2 separate regions of the Homo sapiens genome follow, and region 1 is linked to region 2. Evidence: promoter capture Hi-C in 16 types of primary human blood cells and fetal thymus (Javierre and others, 2016). All regions are on one chromosome and are shown on one strand. Each heading gives the region's core, a stretch centred on a gene start or on the middle of the fragment in contact. The rest is flanking DNA. Distances are from core to core; before and after follow the strand shown. Region 1 has its middle 78 kb from the start of LINC01923. Region 2 holds the start of MARS2 (methionyl-tRNA synthetase 2, mitochondrial).

Evidence for each region. The method cuts DNA at HindIII sites, captures the fragments that hold promoters and counts their contacts. A CHiCAGO score of 5 or more calls a contact.
Region 1: a fragment that was not itself captured here is called in contact with the fragment with the promoter of MARS2 in region 2 in 15 of 17 cell types (naive CD4 T cells, fetal thymus, M0 macrophages and 12 more); the score reaches 14.2 in naive CD4 T cells.

What each region holds. Positions count from the first base shown.
Region 1 is chr2:198,294,500-198,299,255 of GRCh38, reverse strand. No RefSeq gene overlaps it. Among named protein-coding and RNA genes, the nearest start is that of LINC01923, 78 kb to the left of the region's middle. The HindIII fragment of the contact is 1,138 bases long and covers 839-1,976 here.
Region 2 is chr2:197,703,203-197,707,606 of GRCh38, reverse strand. MARS2 (methionyl-tRNA synthetase 2, mitochondrial) reads right to left here and starts at 2,238. Exons shown (of 1, transcript NM_138395.4): 1 at 1-2,238. The coding sequence starts at 2,201. The coding sequence ends at 420. RefSeq lists enhancers at 1,835-1,954, 1,995-2,044 and a silencer at 2,185-2,424. The HindIII fragment of the contact is 9,491 bases long and covers 1-4,404 here.

The DNA of each region.
Region 1 (4,756 bases), core at 158-2,657, 590 kb before region 2:
CTCTTTATTTTTATTTTATGAGCTCATTTCTATTTTTAATTCTTTTAACTTTTCAAAATTTTTTATCAAAAACTAAGACTCAAACACACATTAGCCTAGGCCTACAGAGGGTCAGGATCATCAACATCACTGTCTTTCCCCTCCATATCTTCTCCCACTGGAAGGTCTTCAGGGGCAATAACATGCAAGAACTGTCATCTGTGATAACAATGCCTTCTTTTGGAATACCCCCTGAAGGACACACCTGATGCTGTTTTACAGTTAATTTTTTTATATTAGTAGAAGGAGTACACTACAAAATAATGATCGAAAGTATAGTAAATACATAAGCCGGTAACATAGTCATTTATTTTCATTATCAAGGACTATTTACTATACACGATTGTATGTGCTAGATTTTTATATGACTGTCAGCATAGTAGGTTTGTTTGCACCAGAATCACCACAGACACAAGAGTAATGCATTGAGTTATGATGCTACAATGGCAGTAACAAGTCGGCTGATAGGAATTTCTCAGCTCCATAATAATTGTGCAAGACTGCCATCATATATTCACTCTACTGTTGACCAAAACCTCATTATACAGCATATGACTGTCTATATATAAACAAAGAACCATATTTTTGAGGAATTTTAATTTTTTATTTAAGAGTAAAGTGTAATAAGGGTAAAGTGTCTGTGATTTGTTTAAATTCTTCAGAAAAAAAGGAAGAAAAACAGGATAGAAAAAACAATACAGCAGAATCTTGCTAAATGAGTGATGCCAATGTCGGCAAGTTGGGTGATGGATACATTGGGGTTCACTGCAAACTTTATATTTGTGTATGTTTGAAAGCTTTTATAATAAAAATTAAATACAGTATATATTAAATATGTATGCCACTTAGCACTTAATCAAAATTTTTTATCTCGCCTTGTTAGATTTTATTATTTTATCTTGAACAAGTAGCATCAACATAGCCTGGGCAATATAGTCAGACCTCGTCTCTACAAAAAATTTTAAAAATCAGCTGAGCAGGCTGGGCGCGATGGCTCACGCCTGTAATCCCAGAACTTTTGGGGCCGAGGCGGGCTAATCACCTGAGGTCAGGAGTTCGAGACCAGCCTGGCCAACGTGGAGAAACCCCGTCTCTACTAAAAATACAAAAAAATAGCCGGGCATGGTGGCGCATGCCTGTAATTCCAGCTACTTGGGAGGCTGAGGCAGGAGAATCGCTTGAATCTGTGAGGCGGAGGTTGTGGTGAGCCGAGATCGGGCCATTGCGCTCCAGCCTGGGCAACAAGAGCAAAACTCCATCTCAAAAAAAAAAAAAAAAAAACAGCTAAGCATAGTGGTGGACCACACGTAGTTCCACCTACTCAGAAGGCTGGGGTGGGAGGATTGCTTGAACCTGGGAAGTGAAAGTTGCAGTGAGCCAAGATCACGCCACTGAACTCTAGCCTGGGTGACAGACAAGACCCTGTCCCCCCCCACCAAAAAAAAACTCAATATAAGAAGTATTGCTGGTGAACATATAGTGCCCTGCACCTAGAAAAATGAAGCTACTTTCAAGAGATTAGTAGGAGAAGGGATCATTGATGATCCCTTGAAGCCAGGGTCTTAATGAAATTTGGAATGGGAAGCAGCTCAGTTATTAAAAAAAAAAAAAAAAAGATACCCTTGCTGGCACAAGGACGAAGGGTAAGTTATCACTTCCCTTTTTCTAGTGTTAAGTAAATTACATTTAACAAAGATGACTCTTGTCAATTTTGTATCACTTTGACTCTTACGTACTTATGCAGTAAGTTTCTTAGCAGCACTGCTTGCTATAACTTAAACTAGAGAGTTAATAGCAGAAATGCAGCTGTATCTGAAATATGCTACAACTACTCCTCTCAGGAAGGATTTGGAGGAGTAACTTTTAAATGCTTGGCTCAACATCTTAAAGACAAGTTTCTGTTAAGGTGAGAAGACAACAGTATAGAATGAAAAGCTTACACAGCTGGATTCTAAGGCTGACTCCCCAATTAACTAATTATGTGACTTTAAACCAATCACTTACTTTCTCCAACTCTCTCCAGGGTTCTTTGTTTTTAATGAAATGGGCTGGTGGGTGAATTGGACTCTTTCAAGGAGCTCTCCCAGGACAAAGACATGGTCATGCATATTCACCAGACCATATCCAGCATCTAGCACAGCTCCTCAAACATAAGAGGATTCCAATTCGTATTTTAAGAGAACAAAAAAAACCAGAATATCAAATAATTGGTTACATCCAAAAACCTGTCAATCCGGAAAATTTCTCACATTCGTCTACCTCCTTGACCTGGATCTTTTCAGGTTTATCACGTTTTCCCCCAAGAGAGCCTCCAGAAGTGAAGACGGCGTATAATGCAATATGACCACTAGATGGCAGCACGAACCCACCTCAGAATTATCCCTAAAGCGGCCACAGACCCTAGACCAGCTGTTTCAACTGAGCCTGCACAACTGAGCAGACTGTGAATAGTTAAGACTGCCTTGGCTGGTGTCTTTCCCTATACCCTTCCTTTTGTTTTAATTATAAGAAATCTATATGAGTTTCACTATTGATAGGAACATAAATGATCTGTTGTTTCAGCCCTAGGATATTGATATTGCCTTTATATAAATTGTTGATATTTTGTTCATCATGGATTTCCTTTCATTAATTTTGATTAATGCAAATTTTAAGTTACTTTCACCTTAGTCCTGAAAAAACAAGACTGCTTCCAGGGACCATCAAAATAATCTTACAGAGAGACTAGGTAGTATGCATCTGTGGGAGATGCATCTGTGCACACTGGAGACCTCCAGTATATACAGCAGGAGCTCAGTAACAATGTTTTTCAGTGAACCAGGACAAGGATATTCAGTGTATGGGTACTTAAAAAAATGAATGCATGCTCAAAAGGTGAGACCTTCCTTTCCTACTACATGTTTTTTTTCTTTCTTTCTTTTTTTTTTTTTTTTCACTAATTCATGGTCTTCTTCATCACCTCTCTCCTCCTCCTTCCAGAGCTCCATCTGCTTCCCTGGGTACTACATTGTGAGACACTTTGCTCCCTTCCTTTTTATTTATTTATTTTTATTCATTGATTGATTGACTGATTGAGACACGGTCTTGCTCTGTTGCCAGGCTGGAGTGCAGTGGTGTGATCACAGCTCACTGCACCCTTGACCTCCTGGGCTCAAGGGATCCTCCTGCCTCAGCCCCGAGTAGCTGGGACTAAAGGCACCCACCACCACACCCAGCTAATTTTTGTTTTTTTGGTTTATTTGTAGAGATGGGGTCTTGCCATGTTAGCCAGGCTGGTCTCAAACTCCTGGGCTACAGTGATTCCCCACCTAAGCCCCCCAAAGTGTTGGGATTACGGGCACGAGCCACTGCACCCGGCCACCCTGCCCCTTTTAAAAATCTCCTTTCTATTCTCTCTCTGCTGGCCCACCTTACCCAGAGAAGTTTTCTTTAGTTCCATCTCCTGTTCTATTTCATTTTTTCTTAGATCCCAGAGGAATTAAGAAGATGGGGTGGCTGGGAAGGGAAATGGGGAGAATCTCAGAGAATGGAAGGATCAGAGAGCTGGAAGCCAAATCTAGACTCTAAGCTCCTGGGGCACAGAACATCCCCACCAGACTTAGCACAGTGCCTTGCACAAAACAGGTGTACAATAAATATCCATTTGTATGGATGATTACTTGTGTTAATTAGCAATGTGCTCATACAAATAATGAAAAGTCATACAGTAATTTTAAACAATGTCCTATATACAACTATTTCAAGGACTCATGCAAGTGACAACATCCATTAACACTGTAGCTAATTACCTTTGTGCCTCTCCTCTCCTCCCAGTAGCTTCAAGTGCTCAACTCTTAAAAATCCTGAAAGTCAAAGGGCAAGCAGATTCCAGGCTCCCCTTGAACTTTCCCTGAGGCCCAGACAACATTAAGGCCATGGGCACTGCCAAACTCTTTTTTACTGGCATTGGTAAAGCATTGACTGTGGGTGAGGTCCAGGACCCAGGGCTGTATTTTTCACAGATGCATCCTGTGCTTGGTATCTTTACTTTGCACCCCCAGATTCACTCCGCTGACATCTCTGCCTGCTTTCTGGCCTGGAGAGCCCCATCATGAGAACCCTCAAGCCCTCTGGATTCTGGCTGGGTGTAGCCAATAGGAAGTTTTGGTATCACAGGGAGGTTATGACCCTTTGCTCCCTTGCTGCAAGGTTACCTGCAGATGACACTGCCTCTAGAAAGAAGATCACCCCTGCTCAAAGGCAGCAGTCTACAGCCCTGCCTCCTCCCTCCATTCCTAGCAAGGAAAGTTGGTACTACTAGCACTGCTGGTACTATCGCTGTGGTCCTCCGACACAGGCACATGGGTCCTGACCAATCTTTACTGAGCTCTCCACTTGTAGAACACACTGTGTACTCAGAACTCAGGTTTCCCATTCAGATAGACCCAAGCCAGCTTCCAGGGTCTGTTCAAGTCCAATCCTCAGTTCCGTCTCAGGGTGGGTGGGAACTGTGACCCCAGACCCAAGGGCCAGTGGGGCAGTTATTTGTGGAACTGTGAGTGGAGTTTGGACACATGGCCTAGGGTGTCTGGCCATGAGCTTGTAAAGGTGTTTGCAGAACTGAGGGCAACATGTCTATCCCTCACCTCCATGTTCTGGTGGTATGGTCTGTAACTTAGAGAATGTGATAATTCTATGTGCAGACCTGGCCTTCAAAGTCATTACATAAGTGCCCCAT
Region 2 (4,404 bases), core at 989-3,488:
CCCTGTAAAACCACCAGTAAGGGGCCTCCAACCCTGACCCTCAAAGAAAGGAGTCACTAATTAGCCTGAGAAGCAGAGGCCAGGCCAATGAAAAACCAGCCACGAGAGGTAGTTTGGGCAAATAACTGTGGTTTGGAAGGAGGCACAAAGAAGGAACAGCATTAGCAACACTGTCTCTTACCCATCTTTCCCCTGAAGACATCTTAGACACACAATGCACAAAGGACAGTGATCAATGGTCACAGAGAAATGAATAGGAGCAGGCACCTGAAAGGCTACAAACCTCTTTTCACAGGGACACAGCTTATGTGCTCATTTGATTCCACACTTAAGAAAATACTAGTATAACTTTCCTGAAAATAAAAAATAAAAAGATAACACATTTGCTTTTTTACCACAAGCCGGTAAGAACTGAGTTTCTAGGTCCGGTGGGCTTTCACCAGCCAAGTCCTGGACTGGTCTAGTCTTGGAAACAAAAGCCCAGTTTCAGGTCCCAGCCTCCTCCCTTCAAAAGGGCATGGATGTCCATAGAATCGAGGCAAGAAATAGAGCTCTCCAAGACTCCTCTCTGAGGCAGAGACCCCCAGCCTAGACAGCAGCTTGTCAGCTAGGCTTGGGGTGACAGGCTGCAGCAAAGTCCCAAAGACTCGCAAACATTCCAAGGCCACATGAAGCACAGTACCCAGCCAGGGAGCATCCACTGGGCTCTCCCAGTTCAGCTTCCATGGTGCATGCCTTTGGACAAAACCATTAGTTTGCCGGACACAGCTGGACACGGCCTCCAGAGCCTTATATATCCGAAAGTTATCATAGTGGTCTGCTACCTGCTTTGGCAAAGTGGCCACTGCGCTCACCAGAGCATAATCCTCTGCCTGAGCACGAACTGACGGCCCCACCAACCCTGGCTCACTAGGGAAGCAGGTAGTGCAGAAGGCTGGGTAGGTCTCAGAAGGATTTATTCTTTTGGCAGTGCATCGGTTCAAGAGACCTCCCAAGGCATCTGCCAGCTCGGAGTTCAGCAACTTAACCACCTTTTCATCATAGTAGTCACAGTCCCAGTTGGGGACGCCCTGCCGAAGGAGAAAGTAGCGGAAGCCATCCACGGTATAGCGGTTAAGGCAAGTCCTAGGATCCACCACGTTGCCCAAGCTCTTGGACATCTTTTGGCCACAGACTGTCCAGTGGGAATGGACACAGATGCGCTGTGGCGGGCTCATGCCGGCCCCTAACAGGAAGGCAGGCCAATAGATGGCATGGAATTTGAGAATGTCCTTACCTATGATATGAGAGGTGGCCGGCCACCAAGATTTGAACTCAGCATTTGGGTAGCCAATTACAGTGAGGTAGTTGACCAGGGCATCCAGCCATACATAGATGGTCTGCGAATCATCCCCGGGCACCGGAATGCCCCAGTGCAAGTGGCTACTTCTGCGAGACACGGACAGGTCGGGCAGCTCCTCGTCCAGCCACTGAAGAACTACGTGATGAAATGGTTCGGGGGTGATCGCCTGAGGGTTGCCCCGCAGCCACCGCTGGAGTGGCTTCCGGAACTGGGAAAGCCTGAAAATGTAGTTTTCTTCCTTGGTCCAGGAGACTGGATGCCCGCTCTCGAGAGATACAGGAAACGAATCCCCCGATGGGCCCGGCTGCTGGGTGACCTTGGCCTCAGGCAGGAAGCACTCGTCGGAAGCGCAATACCAACCTTCATAGACGCCCTTGTAGAGCAGACCGCGGGACTTAAGCACCCCCCAGAAGTGCTGCACAGCCACCCGGTGCCGGGCCTCCGTGGTGCGGATGAAATCTGTGCAGGAGATACCGGCCTCCTGGAAAAGCTGCTGGAACTGCTCAGAGACTCGGTCGCACAGCTCGGTCGGGGCCAGGCCCGCGGTAGCTGCTGCCTGCTGAATCTTCAGCCCGTGCTCGTCGGTACCAGTGGAGAATCGCGTGGCGGCCGTGCTGGGACCTCGGAGGCGACGGTGGCGGCATAGGGCGTCCGCCAGTAGTGCCGAGTACAGGTGCCCGATGTGCGGCGCCGCGTTCACGTAGAAAATGGGTGTAGTGAAGTAGGCGCGCACATCACAAGCATCATCGCCGGCACTGAGGGAGCCCGAACTGTAGTAGCGTGGGCCGAAGTCCTCCAGGAGAGACAGCCTACTAGCCCCCGTGCGTCCTAGCAGGCGGAGGACGGACGTTCGCAGCATGGTGCAGACCGGCCGCAAGCGGAGGAGGCGGCGTTCTGACAGCACGTGTGAGAGGCGCATGCGCAGCCGGGTCGCGCCGCAGCTTCCGGCCGGAAAGCCAATGAAACGCGGCCCCGAGCGCCGGCCCTCACCGCCCTCCCCGCCCGGCCCCGCCCCGCCCGCGCCTGCGCCGTCCGCACGCCGAAAGCCGCGGCGCCAGAGGCCGCCAATGGACGGCGGCTTGCCAGAAAAACAGCTCAGAGTTGCCGGGTTTAGGAGAGGCTATGAAAGAAGACGAACCTCTTTGCCTTCGTATAACATACTGTGTTTCCTGCTTTGGATTGTAATTTTATATTTATGAATCTGTTTCCCCCTCTAGGCTGAGCTGCTTGTAGGCAAGAGTTTTATATTCAGCCGTTTGTCTAAACCCCGTCCGTGGCTGGCATACTGCAAGACAGAGTATTGCTCTGCACATGCCCTGTCGATATCTAAAATGTCACCTAAATTTTATCTCAGAGCCTAAATCAATCTGTAAGGGAGGGAGAGAGAAAAAAGATGAAAAATCATTACCTACAGCATTTTGAGAGAAGGATAAGAACTGAGAATGGAAGAGAAGTCTTTAAACAGTTTTTGTTGAATCAACAAAAGTAGATTTGTGATCTGCCAAGTTCTTGCCAAAGTTTATTGAGATCCAGGAAAGTAGAGTGCAATATGCTGTCACTGTGCATATAAAGAATAATTTTCAAATTTATTTCTCAAAAAGTTAATTTTTTTAATGGTCTTGAAGTTCTTTTAAAATAGTGTTTCTCAAGTTTGCTTTTAGTAATGGAACCTTAGAATTTTTTTTAGGGGAGGAAACCTCAGGAGCCCAGAATTGAATTAATGTTAATCCCTAGTTCATAACACACTCTCATCTTTGATCTTTTTTTTTTAATTTAATTTAAGTAGCATATACATTTAATAATAAAATGGAGCAGCTATGAACCTACAACCCAATCTAAGAACTACAAGTGGTTTCAGAGTGTGGTCCCCAGAGCAGCAGAACTGGCAGCACCTGGAACTTCGTTCGATATGTATATTCTTAGGCCCCATCCCCCACATACTGAACCAGAAAACTCTGAGGGTAGGGCCCAGTAATTTAGATTTTAAGGTGATTCTGATGCACATTAAAGTTTGAGAAACACTGAACTAGAAAATTACCAGTGATTTAGATCTGTGTGCTCCTTTTCTTCTCGTACTGTCCTCCCTGAGGTAGTCATTGTCCTGAATTTTGTTCTTGCACATTTGTGTGATCACATACAAAGTATGTCTAAGTAACATTGTTTAATTTTGCTTGCATTTAAATATTCTAAAAAGGATATAATACTACATGTAGTCTTCAACTTGCCTTTTTATTCAACATTTTGTTGCTATATTAATCCATGTTGTTGCATGTAACTGCATTCATATGTTCTTAATACATGTTGCATGTAATTCATTCATTTTGACTGCTGTATAATAACCTTTGACTGAACACATATGGTAACTTGGATCTGATTTCTCTAGTGATATGATGAAAGGTGGACCAATCGAATTCTGTATAAGAGATATAAAAAATAACTTTGGATACTCAGTTGATGTGCTCTTATTTAATCCAGCAGTTTAAGAATGACCTACAACCATCTGGTCTTCAACAAAGTTGATAAAAACAAGCAATGGGCAAAAGACTCCCTATTCAATAAATGGTGCTTGGATAACTAGCTAGCCATATACAGATGAAACAGGACCCCCTTCCTATACCATATACAAAACTCAACTCAAAATGGATTAAAGACTTAAATGTAAAACCTAAAACTAAAAACCTTAGAAGGTAACCTGGGAAATACCATTCTGGACATAGGACCTGACAAAGATTTCATCATGAGGATGCCAAAAGCAATTGCAACAAAAACAAAAATTGACAAATGGGACCTAATTAAAGAGTTTCCGCACCACAAAATAAACTATCAACAGAGTAAGCAGACAATCTACAGAATGGGAGAAAATATTTTCAAACTATGAATCCAAGAAAGGTCTAATATCCAGAATCTATAAGGAATTTTAAAAATCAATAAGCAAAAAACCTCATTAAAAAGGCAAAGGACATAAACAGACACTTCTCAAAAGAAGATAGACATGCGGCCAACAAGCATATAAAAAATGCTTAACATCACTCGTCATTACAGAAATGCAAATCAAAACCACA